3 separate regions of the Homo sapiens genome follow, and all the other regions are linked to region 2. The links are contacts of gene promoters, found by promoter capture Hi-C in blood cells and fetal thymus (Javierre and others, 2016). All regions are on one chromosome and are shown on one strand. The core of a region is centred on a gene start or on the middle of the fragment in contact, and the rest is flanking DNA. Distances in the headings are between cores, read along the strand shown. Region 1 holds the start of ZNF157 (zinc finger protein 157). Region 2 holds the start of ELK1 (ETS transcription factor ELK1). Region 3 overlaps RBM10 (RNA binding motif protein 10).

Region 1 (3,960 bases), core at 599-3,098, 280 kb before region 2:
CCTTGGCCTACCAAAGTGCTGGGATTACAGGCGTGAGCCGCCTCCTCTGGCCTCTTTTTTTTTTCTTTAATAGAAACAAAGTGTCACTCTGTCATCCAGGCTGGAGTGTAGTGGAGTGATCTCAATGCACTGCAACTCTGTGTGTGTGTTTTTGTTTGTTTGTTTGTTTTTTAAGGATACTGGGTTTTGCCATGTTGTCCAGGTTAGTTTTGAACACCTGGGCTCAAGGGATCCTCTTGCTTTGGCCTCCCAAAGTGTTGGGATTAAAGCCGTGAGCCACTGCACCTGGCCTGATTATTTATTTCTTTTCTCTTCTTTTCTCCTTTCTTCCCTCCTTCCTTCCTTCCTTCCTTCCATCCTTCCTTCCTCTCTTTCTTTCTTTCTTTCTTTCTTTCTTTCTTTCTTTCTTTCTTTCTTTCTTTCTTTCTTTCTCTCTTTCTCTCTTTCTTTTTCTTTCTCTTTTAGAGACAAAGTCTTGCTCTGTCACCCAGGCTGGAGTGCAGTGGCGCCATCAGAGGTCACTGCAGCCTCAACCTCTCAGGCTTCTTAAGCTATCCTTCTGCTTCAGCTTCCTTAGTAGCTGGCACTACAGGTGTGGACCACCACACTCGGATTATTTTATTTCTTGTAAAGACAGCGTCTCACTTTGTTGCCAAGGCTGGTTTCGAACTCCTGGACTCAAGCAACCCTCCTGTCTTGGCCTCCCAAAGTTCTGAGATTACAGGCATGAGCCACTGTGCCCAGCCCACTCTATTTCATCTTCTCTTGTGTGAGCTAGAGCCCACAAAACAATTTTGGGTTATAGCAGACAGTACTAATTTTGTGGCAATAGCTTCATCATTTTACTTTTTAGCATGGTGTTTCAGAGTTATGTTTCATAATTGATTTTTGTGGCACTTAAGTTATTTACTTTTTCCATGATTTTAGTTTGAGCTTATATTAGTAATGGCTGCTGAATTGCGTTGGATGCTTTTTTGGTGTAAGTTAACAGCAGAGTGTTTCCCTCTGTAATTTGTTGATGTAATACATAACATTAGGCCTGGTGCAGTGGCTCACACCTGTAATCCCAGCACTTTGGGAGGCCAAGGCGGGAGGATCACTTGAGGTCAGGAGTTCGAGACCAGCCTGACCAACATAGTGAAAACCCGTCTCTACTAAAAATACAAACATTAGCTGGGCGTGGTGGCGGGCGCCTGTAATCCCAGCCACTAGGGAGGCTGAGGCAGGAGAATCCCTTGAACCTGGGAGGCGGAGGTTGCTGTGAGCTGAGATCGCACCATTCCACTGCAGCCTGGGTGACAAGAGTGAAACTCCATCTCAAAAAAAAAAAAAAAAAAAAGAAAAAATACATAACATTATTAAGATTGAACCATTTTTTTCTGGAAAGAAGAGGCTAAAAGCTTCCCAGTAAAAGAATTTAAGAGGGATATTTCATCTAAGAGTGGAAAAAAACAAAAGACGGCAGAAGAAAGGACCAGCCGATTTCCTTTCATTTAGATTATCAGCTTTCCAGGTTTCCTGCCCTCACAGTCACCCACCAGGTCCCCTTGAACCTGCCCACCCCATGGGCCTTAAGCACCCTTAAGCACTGCCCCAGTTCTACTTCTCCTAAACCCAGATCTGCCTTGAACTTGAACTGAGGTGTAGGCTGGCTGAGTAGCGAGTGAAGCACCTGGTAGAGCCACTCAAGAAGGGACCCCAAGCTCATTAATTTGGCCCCAAATTTGATCATTTTGTAATCCACCTTGACTCATGCTCTGGGGATGCTGAACATTGTGGCGTGAATGTGGGATGACACTGATGATATGGATACTGTCCTTTTAGGATTTCTTGGTGTCTCTGTGGAGCCATTGAGCCTTACCCCTTACTGGAGGCTGCAGGACCCTCTACACACAGACAGCTGTCCAGCACGGAAGGTGGGCTGAGGCCCAGGGTGAACATGCCAGCTAATGGGACATCACCCCAGAGATTCCCTGCCCTGATTCCAGGAGAACCTGGCAGATCTTTTGAGGTAAGGAGGAGGATCCTATTTTTTTCTATATGTTCTTTATTTTTTTATTTATTTTTAGTTAAATTTATATTTTGAGATAATTGTAGATTCAAATGCAATGTACCATTTACCTAGTTTTTGTCCCCAGTAGTAACATCTCGTAATACCCAGGATATTGACATGCAGAGCATTTCCATCCCCACAAGGATCCCCCATGTTGTCATTAAATAGACACAACCACTTCACTTCCTCCATCACTCCCCTCTTAACCCTGGGGCACCACCAATCTGTTCTCCAATACTATAATTTTTTCATTTCAAGAATGTTGTGGCTGGACGTGGTGGCTCACGCCTGTCACCTGTAATCCCAGCACTTTGGGAGGCCGAGGCGGGTGGATCACTTGCGGCCAGGAGTTTGAGACCAGCCTGGCCAACATAGTGAAACCCTGTTTGTACTAAAAATACAAAAATTAACCAGGTGTTGTGGCACGCACCTGTACTCCCAGCTACTCGGGAGGTTGAGACCGGAAAATCGCTTGAACCTGGAGGCGGAGGTTGCAGTAAGCCAAGATCGTGCCACTGCACTCTGCCTGGGTGACAGAGTGAGACCCTGTCTCAAAAAAAAAAAAAAGTTTTATTTGCCGGGCATGGCAGCTCATGCCTGTAATCCCAGCTCTTAGGGAGGCAGAAGCAGGAGGATAGTTTGAGCCTAGGAGTTTGAGACCTGCCTGGGCAATATAGTGAGACCCTGTTCTCCACAAAAAGGAAAAAAAGGACAAAAAAGAGAGACTGTTATATTAATCAGATTGTACAGTATGTACCTTTTGGGACTGGCTTTCGTCATTCAGCAAAATTCTGTGGAGATATCAATAGCTAACAGTATATCAATAGTTCATTCATTTTTTTTGAGACAGAGTCTTGCCCTGTCACCCAGGCTGGACTGCAATGGCGTGATCTTGGCTCACTGCAACCTCTGCTTCCCGGGTTCAAGCTATTCTCCTGCCTCAGCCTCCCGAGTAGCTGGTATTACAAGTGCGTGCCACCACACCTGGCTAATTTTTTGTATCTTTAGTAGAGACGGGGTTTCACCATGTTGGCCAGGCTGGTCTTGAACTCCTGACCTCGTGATCCACCTGCCTCAGCCTCCCAAAGTGCTGGGATTACAGGCGTAAGCCACCGTGCCCTGCCCATTCCTTTTATTGCTGATACTTTTCCATCGCATGGATGTACCAAACAGTATAACCATTCACTGGTTGAAAGACATCTTGGTTGTTTCTAGTTGTTGGATATTATGAATAAAGATCCTATAATAGTTTGTGTAAGGTTTTTGTAGGGGTGTGATACTGTGAAATATATAATTGGTCTTTCCTGGCAAACAACTCCTAATATCCTCGGAATCTCTAAAGTACTAAAGTGTCTTTTTGTATGCTAATGAGTTGACTGATGCCTGGCAGTCCCTAGGCAGCTTCCGAATGGGGCTGGTCACCAGAAAGACTAAGGTAGGTTTAGAGGGTTGGGACCCTCCAACCACCTGGGAGGGGAGAGGGTGCTGAGAGTCAAGTCGATCCACAAGGGCAAATGATTTAATCAATCATGCCTACATAATGAAGCCCCCCTAAAGCCCCAAAAGGATAAAGTCTGGAGAGCTTCTGGGTAGCCGAACACATGGGGGTTCCTGGAGGGTGGTGCACCCAGAGAGCGCATGAAGACTCCAGGCCCCTTCCCACATGCCTTGCCCTATGTATCTCTTTATTTGGCTGTGATTTATTTGTATTCTTTTTTTTTTTTTTTTTGAGATGGAGTTTCGCTCTTGTTGCACAGGCTGGAGTGCAATGGCGTGATCTTGGCTCACTGCAAACTCCACCTCCTGGATTCAAGTGATTCTCCTGCCTCAGCCTCCCAAGTAGCTGGGATCACAGGCATATGCCACCACGCCCAGCTAATTTTGTATTTTTAGTAGAGATGAGGTTT
Region 2 (4,150 bases), core at 710-3,209:
CAATGCAAAGGCCCTGAGGCTGGCCCATGCCTGCTATGTTTGAGGAGCTGTGTGGTGGAACCAGTGTGGTTGGAGCACAGTAAGGGGGTGGGAAGGTATAGGCGGTAATGCTAGAAAGGTTACTTGTTTTACCATTAATTCACAGTTAATATTTATTTACACTGGAAGGGATTCTAGTTCTGATCCCCCATTTCACAAATGAAGAAAAAGGCACAGAGAGGAAGTGGTTAAATCACTCATCTAAGGTCACACAGCTGCTGGGATTGGGGGGTGGGTGGGTGCTGAGAGAAGGTGAGGAATGAAGACTGCTCTGCAGGCAGAGGGAACAGCAAGAACAAAAGCTTGGAGGTGAGAACTAATTTGGTTTTTAAGGACTGAGGCCTCACGTGGGGTGGGATGAGATCTAAGAGGGGAGCCTCAAAAATTATCCTGTGTCCTGAGTACTTCCTGGGCCACCTTTGAGTAAGGAATTTAACCTCCCTATGGCCCAATTCCCTCACTACCTATCTCATGGGGTTGTGGTGAGGATTAAAGGAACTCATTCATATGAAACACTCTGCCTGATATACGGCAGGTGCTCAATAAACGCTAGCTCCTATTGGCATTACTATCATCACTGGCGCTAATGTATTCACTTATTGTAGTGAGGCAGAACGTCTTTGTGGTTACGAGTGTGACCAGGCTGACCCACTATTAAGAGGTGGAGGACAGGGAAGGCCGTACAGTGCTCCATCACAAGGAAAAGAGGATCAGCACGTTCTCTTCTGGGAAGGGAAAAAAAAAGAGAAGGAAATTGAAAGTACACGGCCGATCTTCCCCCAATTACAAAGCACTGGACTCACGGGAGGGTATGCGGGGGACTGTGCAAGCATACAGGGGTGTGGGGGAGGAAGGCCAATGAACAGATCCACTGCAAAGGGAGGGGTGATGAGGCTCATCGTCTGAGGGGAAGGGGAGCAGAAAACCTTACAGACTCCTGCACCACAGTGAGAGGAGAGAAAAGCCATCACACAGACTGATTCAAAGCAGAGAGGGAAAAGGCTATGGACTGAGCTACTGAAAATAGGGAGATGTAAAGCACTAAACTAACCCACTATTAAAAAGGAGAGAACCCCAAGCGCTAGAGCGACAGTCTACGAAAAAGAGGAGACAGGGCAATGGACTGATAGCTAAAGGGACGTGAATCCAAACATGAAGACTGATCCACTATAAAATGGTGGTGGTGGTGGTGGGGGGGGGGGGTGGTTTTGAAAAAAGCCATGGACTGATGCATTGGGGGACTGGAGGAGGCAGGAATACAAACTCAGGTAGACTCACTGTTAAAGAGGGATGCGGAGGAGTGCGGCGCCACGGATTGATTCGCTACGATGTACAGGAAGGGTGGAATAAATAAGGCCACGGACGGGTCTCCTGAAAGTTGAGGCTAGGAGAAATCCAAACACTCAGATACACCTACTATTAAGGGGGCTGAACACTGTCACAGGCTAGCTCCCTATAAGTGGGGGTGGGTGGGGGGCGGGTGGGGGTAGGGGTAGGGGGAAAGCCTATGGACGAGTCCACCCTAAGTTGGCGTGGGGAAAAACATAAGCACGCAGACCGATCCATTATACAACGGGAGGGGGAGGTTAGGCCACGGTCAGATCCACTATAAGGGACGAAGGGCTTGAGCAATGCCACACGCAGGTCCACCAGCCGTGGTGGTGGCGGCGGGGAGTCGAACACCAGCAGGCCACCGGCCAAGCCACATCCTCTGCGCGGGGGCGGGAAGGATACGTGGGGTCACGGACTGGGCCCTCCACCCTCCAGGCCCAGAGCTCACCTGTGTGTAGCGTGGCGGTGGCGTTGGCAATGTTGGCAGCTCCGGGGGGCGGGGGCTCCATACGCGGCCCCACCGCCCCCCAGGCCTGGGTTCCGAGGCGGCGGTGGAGGTGGTGGTGGCGGTGGCGGCGGCAGCACCTAGAAGCCGCCCCTGCGTTTCCCTACAGCTCACGTGGGCCCGAGGAGGAGGAGCCCAATGTCCCGCCGCTCGCTGATTGGCCAAAGCGCTATTAATCGGCCGCAAGGCCTCGAGGGGTTGGGGGACGGGCCCTTCCCTACAGAGCTGTGCCGTGATTGGCGTAAGGGGAAATGATGGAACGCTCACGGCCCCTGGAGTCCCGAGGAGGCGCGTTCGGCCTTCACGGTGCTCCACGCCGATTGGCTCAAGGACTGACGGACTGTGAGCAACTGAAAAGGCTCGGGGCCTGTGTCGGGGGGGCGGGGGTCTGCCTCACACTGATTGGCTTACATGGGATTGATGGAAGACAGCCCCCAAGGACGGGGGTGGGTGGCCCTGTTTTTCTCTGATTGGCGGACGAGGGACTTCTAGACCCCTGCCAAAACACCAAGGGGGCGGTGTCGCACGCCATGCTGCTCAGCGGAAGCAGGGCTTGTATAGAAATGGGCGTAGCAGCCGGCGGGAGTGGGTCGGACTGGGCTCCGCGTAGGCGGGCAGGGCAGCTCTACGGTTAGACAAGACCATAGAGCTGGGTAAAGACGAATTTAGAACACAGCGGAGGTAGGAGGGCAGGATGGCTGTCAGGCACACGAAAGAGCATTGAGTGGCAGAAACGAAATGCTTTCAGAGGGCAGGGTTGAACTGCGGCCAGAGTTAAAAAGGGGAGGAACCTGGCTCTGCATTGATTGGCGGTGGCTGGACTCAACCTAGAATAGGGGCCCGACTAGGGAGAGCGGGATCCAGGTCTGTGCCCATTGGAAGCTGGAACACTTACAAGCAGGGGCTAAGACAAGGTAGGGCTGAGTTAGGGTTTGGGTGTAATTTGGGGTACCTGGGGAATGATTGGGTGTGTGAAAGCGTAAACCTTAGGGCCCTTTGATTGTTGTGGGAATGAACAAACCTCCACCATGAATTGGCCCATTCTCTATGGCAATTCAAAGGGTGGCGTCTAGGAAAAGGAATGGAAGAAAGGGTGAGGTGGGGGGCCCAGGTTGCCAAGATGACAGAAGAGAGGGCAGTGCATAAGGTCAACTGGCAAATACTGCCAGGCAACAGGCTGGAGGCAGGACTGCTGGGGCATTTTGGAGGTTCCACAGAGAGACTGGATCTCTGGGTCTCTCAGTAACTTTGTGCCCTAGGAACAGGCCCCCGTGGCAACTAGCAGGGTTTATGGGGAAAAAGAAGGGCCATGTGACTCAAAGGCATTCAGGCTCTTTAATGTCTGAGGATGGGGGGAAGAAGTCAATGGTGAGGCTTCTCTGGGAAATTCTGCAGGCCTTGTAGTTCTCTAAGCCCCTGAAAAAGAGGACAGAAGAGATTGAACAAAGACTGGGTCTGGGTTACGCCCCCAGGCTTGCTCTGACCTCCCTCCCTTGACTCCAGTTTAGAGGGAAAGATGGTCCTTCCCTTCTTTCGCTCTCTTCCTTCTTCAGGTCACCACCCTAAACACAGAGTCTGGTAGTGGGGTGAGCTGCTCTCACCTCTAGCAACATGTGGATATGGGCTTTGATATTCATGGAGTCCTTGGTGAGGCTGTTGCTGAGCCTAGAGAAAAGAAACAAGAAAGGGCAAAATGGGCCCCACATGATTATGATGACCCTTCCTTATCACTTCAAGATCTACTTATATCCTGGATGATTTCCACCTGGCTCATTCCTATGTGGAAATGCCAAGCCACCATCTGGTTTTCACTGATTCAAAGATTATTAAATGCCTACTGTATGCCAGGCAATTTTAGGCACTGGGAGATAGCAGCAAACACAACAAACAAAACTCCCGGCCTGATGGACTTCAAATTCTTGTAAAGAAAGACATAACAAAAAACCAATGGAATAAAAGCTATGTGTCAGATGGTTCTAACTACAATAACAAAAATTAAAAATGAGAGACAATAAGGAGTACAGGAGTGGGGGGCTGCAATTTTAAAGAGGGCTCAGGGATGGCTTCACGGAGAAGCATTTGAGTAAAGACTTAAAGACAGTGAATTTTGAGTAGTGTGGCTATATGGAGGATGTGTTCCACACACAAGGGGCAGCAAACACAAAGGCACTGAGGTGGGAGTGTGCCTGGCATGTTTGAGGTGCAGCAAAGAGGCCACTCTGGCTGGAGAAGAATAAGTGAAGGGGGAATGTAAGAGGTGAGGTCAGAGAGGTA
Region 3 (3,862 bases), core at 331-2,830, 500 kb before region 2:
TCAGATGTTATCACTCTTCTCAATAATGTCCTTTATAATGGTTTTCCCCAATCCAGGATCCAGTCCAAGATCATGTATTGCATTGAGCTCCTTGTCTCCTTTAATCTGAAACAGTTATTCTATCTTTGTCTTTTATGACCTTGTCATTTTTTTTTTTCCTGAACCTATGGATTATATTGAAAGCATGTTTTAAAGTTAGTTGTTTTATAGAATGTTTCTCAGTTTGGATTTTTCTGATGCTTACTCATGAGTTTTTGGCAGAAATGTTATTTAAGTGATTTATGTATATTTTTAAAACCTTGTTAGATTTTATTAGCCATTGTATCATCTAGGATATCTACACCTGTATTTATCAGTGAGGTAGTCCAATATTTTTATTTTCAGTATTTATCTGGCATTGGAATCAAGGTAGCCTCATTACATGAATTGGGCAGCCTTTGTTATTCTCTCTTTATTGGAGAAACTTGTATAAGAATTATCTGTACCTCGAAAAACTTGGTAGGACTCACCTTTAAAAGCATCTGGAGGCTGGGCGCAGTGGGCTGAGGCAGTTGGATCACTTGAACCCAGGAATTCGAGACGATCCTGGGCAACATGGCGAAACTCTGTCTCTACAAAAAATACAAAAATTAGCTGGGCGTGGTGGCAGGTGCCTATAGTTCTAACTACTCAGGAGGCTGAGGCAGGAGGATTACCTGAGTCTGGGAGGTTGAGACTGTGGTAAGCCATGATCATGCCACTGCACTCCAGCCTCAGTGACAGAGTGACACCCTGTCTCAAAAAATAATAAAATAAAAGCATCTGGAGCTGGTTTTTGATTACCATTTCATCTCTTCTGCCAATTTTAGCATTTTATATTTTCTAGAAATATACTCATTTTGTGAAGATCCTCATATATGATGATTCAGTCCAGCATCCTAGAAATGCTTTATAAAAGGGATATGCCTTTGGAAGGTGTTTGTTCAGAGTGCTTTGGTGGCCAATTAAAAATATTCCTTTCTATCCAAATATGTTCCCTTCCTGAGTTTAGATAGCAAGAGTTCAATACCTGAATTTATTTGGTTTGGATATTGGATGTCAAGAGAGTTCAGGATAATTTCATCTGAAAATTTATAAATTTATTCATATCTGTTCAGTTCTTGATTTTTTTTCCTTTTTTTTTTGTTTGTTTGTTTGTTTGTTTTTGTTTGTGGAGATAGTCTCACTCTGTCTTCCAGGCTGGAGTTCAGTGGTGCGATCTTGGCTCACCGCAACCTCTGCTTTCCAGGCTCAGGGGATTCTTGTGCCTCAGCTTCCTGAGTAGCAAGGATTACAGGCCCGTGCCACCACACCCGGCTAATTTTTGTATTTTAGTAGAGACGGGGTTTCACCATGTTTGCCAGACTGGTCTCGAACTCCGTACCTCAGGTGATCCACTCGCTTCAGCCTCCGAAAGTGCTGGGATTACAGGTGTGAGCCACCATGATGGCCCAGTTCTTGAATTTTGATGACTACAGTTCAAATTGATTGTATCAAGAACCTTATAACTACTCATACCACTGACAGTGATTTCTTCTCTAGGCATTTACGGTAGGGAAACAATTTGGGGCCAGGTGTGGTGGCTCACGCCTGTAATCCCAGCACTTTGGGAGGCCGAGGCGGGTGAATCACGAGGTCAGGAGTTTGGGACCAGCCTGGCCAACATGATGAAACCCCATCTCTACTAAAAATACAAAAAATTAGCTGGGTGTGGTGGCAGGCACCTGTAATCCCAGCTACTCGGGAGGCTGAGGAAGGACAATCGCTTGAACCCAGGAGGTGGAAGTTGCAGTGAGCCAAGATCACGCCACTGCACTCCAGCCCGGAGGACAGTGCGAGACTCCCTCTCAAAAAAAAAAAAAAAAAAAAAAGAGTTTGGGTTCCAAGCTGAGTTCGTGGGGACAGGGACTTTATTTTGTTCACAGCAGTATCCCCATTACCTAGAACAGTACTTATCGTATAGCCAATGTTAGGTTAATATTTGTTGAATGAATGCATGAACAAATAATTGTTTAAAAAAATGGAAGTCAACCAAAATGTTTGAAAACATGTTTAATGGATATTTGCCCCATTTGTTACTTATCTTTATGGTGTTTTCCATAGTTTAGTGTGAAATTTCAAGCATGTAGCAAAGTTTAAAGAATTTTACAATGGGCCTGGTGCGGTGGCTCATGCCTGTAATCCCAGCACTTTGGGAGGCTGAGGTGGGCAGATCACGAGGTCAGGAGATCAAGACCATCCTGGCTAACACAGTGAAACCCCATCTCTACTAAAAATACAAAAAAATTAGCCGGCTGTGGTGGCGGGCGCCTGTAGTCCCAGCTACTTGGGAGGCTGAGGCAGGAGAATGTCATGAACCCGGGTGGCGGAGCTTGCAGTGAGCCGAGATCGCCACTGCACTCCAGCCTGGGCAACAGAGCGAGACTCCATCTCAAAAAAAAAAAAAAAAAAAGAATTTTACAATGAACACCATATATACCCATCCACTAGATTCTTTTTTTTTCTTCTTTCTTTCTTTTTTTTTTTTTTGAGATGGAGTTTTGTTCTTGTTGCCTAGGCTGGAGTGCAATGACACAATCTCAGCTCACCGCAACCTCTGCCTCCTGGGTTCAAGTGATTCTCCTGCCTCAGCCTCCCGAGTAGCTAGGATTACAGGCACGCGCCACCACACCTGGCTAATTTTGTATTTTTAGTAGAGACGGCGTTTCTCCATGTTGCTCAGGCTGGTCTCAAACTCCCGACCTCAGGTGATCTGCCTGCCTCGGCCTCCCAAAGTGCTCGGATTATAGGTGTGAGCCACCGTGCCCAGCCCACTAGATTCTACTATTAACGTTTTACCATACTTGCTTTATTACATATTTACTTCTAAGTTTCTCGTATTTTTTACACTCTATAGAGATTTATAATTTTTACAAAGCCAGATTTATTCATTTTCCTTTTATGACTGCTGGGATTTGTCTTGCTGAGGAAGGCCTTCCCCACTCTTAAGGTGATACATTTTTTTCTTATGTTTTCTAATATTTGTTTTCTTTTTTTAAAAGTTCAACTTTTATTATAGATTAAAGGATACACATACAGTTTTTTTTTTTAACTCAGTGAAGATGTCTGCACAGCAGGAATCATGTGGGATGGGATGGCCCTTTTTCCTAACGCTGGACCACTTGATGTTCTCTTCCATCTTCCCCCAACCCTCATTTAGATCATGACATCAGAAAATCAGGTTAAAGTTAAGAAAAAGAAGAATCAGATCATTGGGGATTCTTAGTAGTAGCATCGCCATTGGGAGCTGCTAGCCCAGCGGGTATTCCCCATGCCACCCCTCTGGATCTTGGCTCCATGGGTACTGGGAGGAGGCCTTGTTGGCCAGGGAGGCCACGCTGTGCTGCTAGAAGCTGGGCGACATACTGGTGGTGCAGCAGAGTCTCGGGTGCGGCAGCTTGGAGGTACTACCCACATAGGCATTGGCCTTCCAGGGTGCATCCTGGCCCATCATGCTGCTGCAGCAGCTGTGGCTGGTGCTGCATGTCTGCTTGCCTGCTAGGCTGCTCGCCGGCTTGGCCAGGAGCTTGCTGTGCCTCAGTGGGGCCACATCCCCTGTGGCTGCTGTGGCTGTGCTCTGGTCTTGGAAAATGGTGGCGATGTGGTTCCAGAGGTCTGTGAAGAACCTGCTCACACCCTCGTAGGCTGGGAAGGCGTTGATGTCGATGACGGCATGCTGCCCCATCTGGTTGTTGATGATGATGTCGGTGCCGAACAGCAATACTCCCAGTGCCTGCCGCAGGGCCCGGGGGAGTTCCCGGATGACCTCTTTGCTCGGCTGCTCTTGAACAGACCAGACCCCTTG

Evidence for each region. Contacts are between HindIII fragments. The CHiCAGO score rates a contact against its expected background, and 5 or more counts as called.
Region 1: the fragment with the promoter of ZNF157 here is called in contact with the fragment with the promoter of ELK1 in region 2 in 10 of 17 cell types (non-activated CD4 T cells, total CD4 T cells, activated CD4 T cells and 7 more); the score reaches 15.6 in non-activated CD4 T cells.
Region 3: a fragment that was not itself captured here is called in contact with the fragment with the promoter of ELK1 in region 2 in 4 of 17 cell types (monocytes, naive CD4 T cells, naive CD8 T cells and 1 more); the score reaches 5.8 in monocytes.

What each region holds. Positions count from the first base shown.
Region 1 is chrX:47,368,730-47,372,689 of GRCh38, forward strand. It overlaps ZNF157 (zinc finger protein 157), which reads left to right and starts at 1,849. Exons shown (of 4, transcript NM_003446.4): 1 at 1,849-2,011. The coding sequence starts at 1,940. The HindIII fragment of the contact is 3,930 bases long and covers 1,399-3,960 here.
Region 2 is chrX:47,648,604-47,652,753 of GRCh38, forward strand. ELK1 (ETS transcription factor ELK1) reads right to left here and starts at 1,960. Exons shown (of 7, transcript NM_001114123.3): 1 at 1,820-1,960; 2 at 1,318-1,423. It overlaps UXT (ubiquitously expressed prefoldin like chaperone), which reads right to left. Exons shown (of 7, transcript NM_004182.4): 6 at 3,478-3,541; 7 at 3,193-3,292. The coding sequence ends at 3,239. RefSeq lists a cis regulatory region at 1,423-2,403 and a silencer at 1,735-2,144. The HindIII fragment of the contact is 5,079 bases long and covers 340-4,150 here.
Region 3 is chrX:47,153,280-47,157,141 of GRCh38, forward strand. All of the region lies in intron 2 of RBM10 (RNA binding motif protein 10), which reads left to right. It also overlaps the pseudogene ITPK1P1. Among named protein-coding and RNA genes, the nearest start is that of RBM10, 10 kb to the left of the region's middle. The HindIII fragment of the contact is 7,763 bases long and covers 1-3,862 here.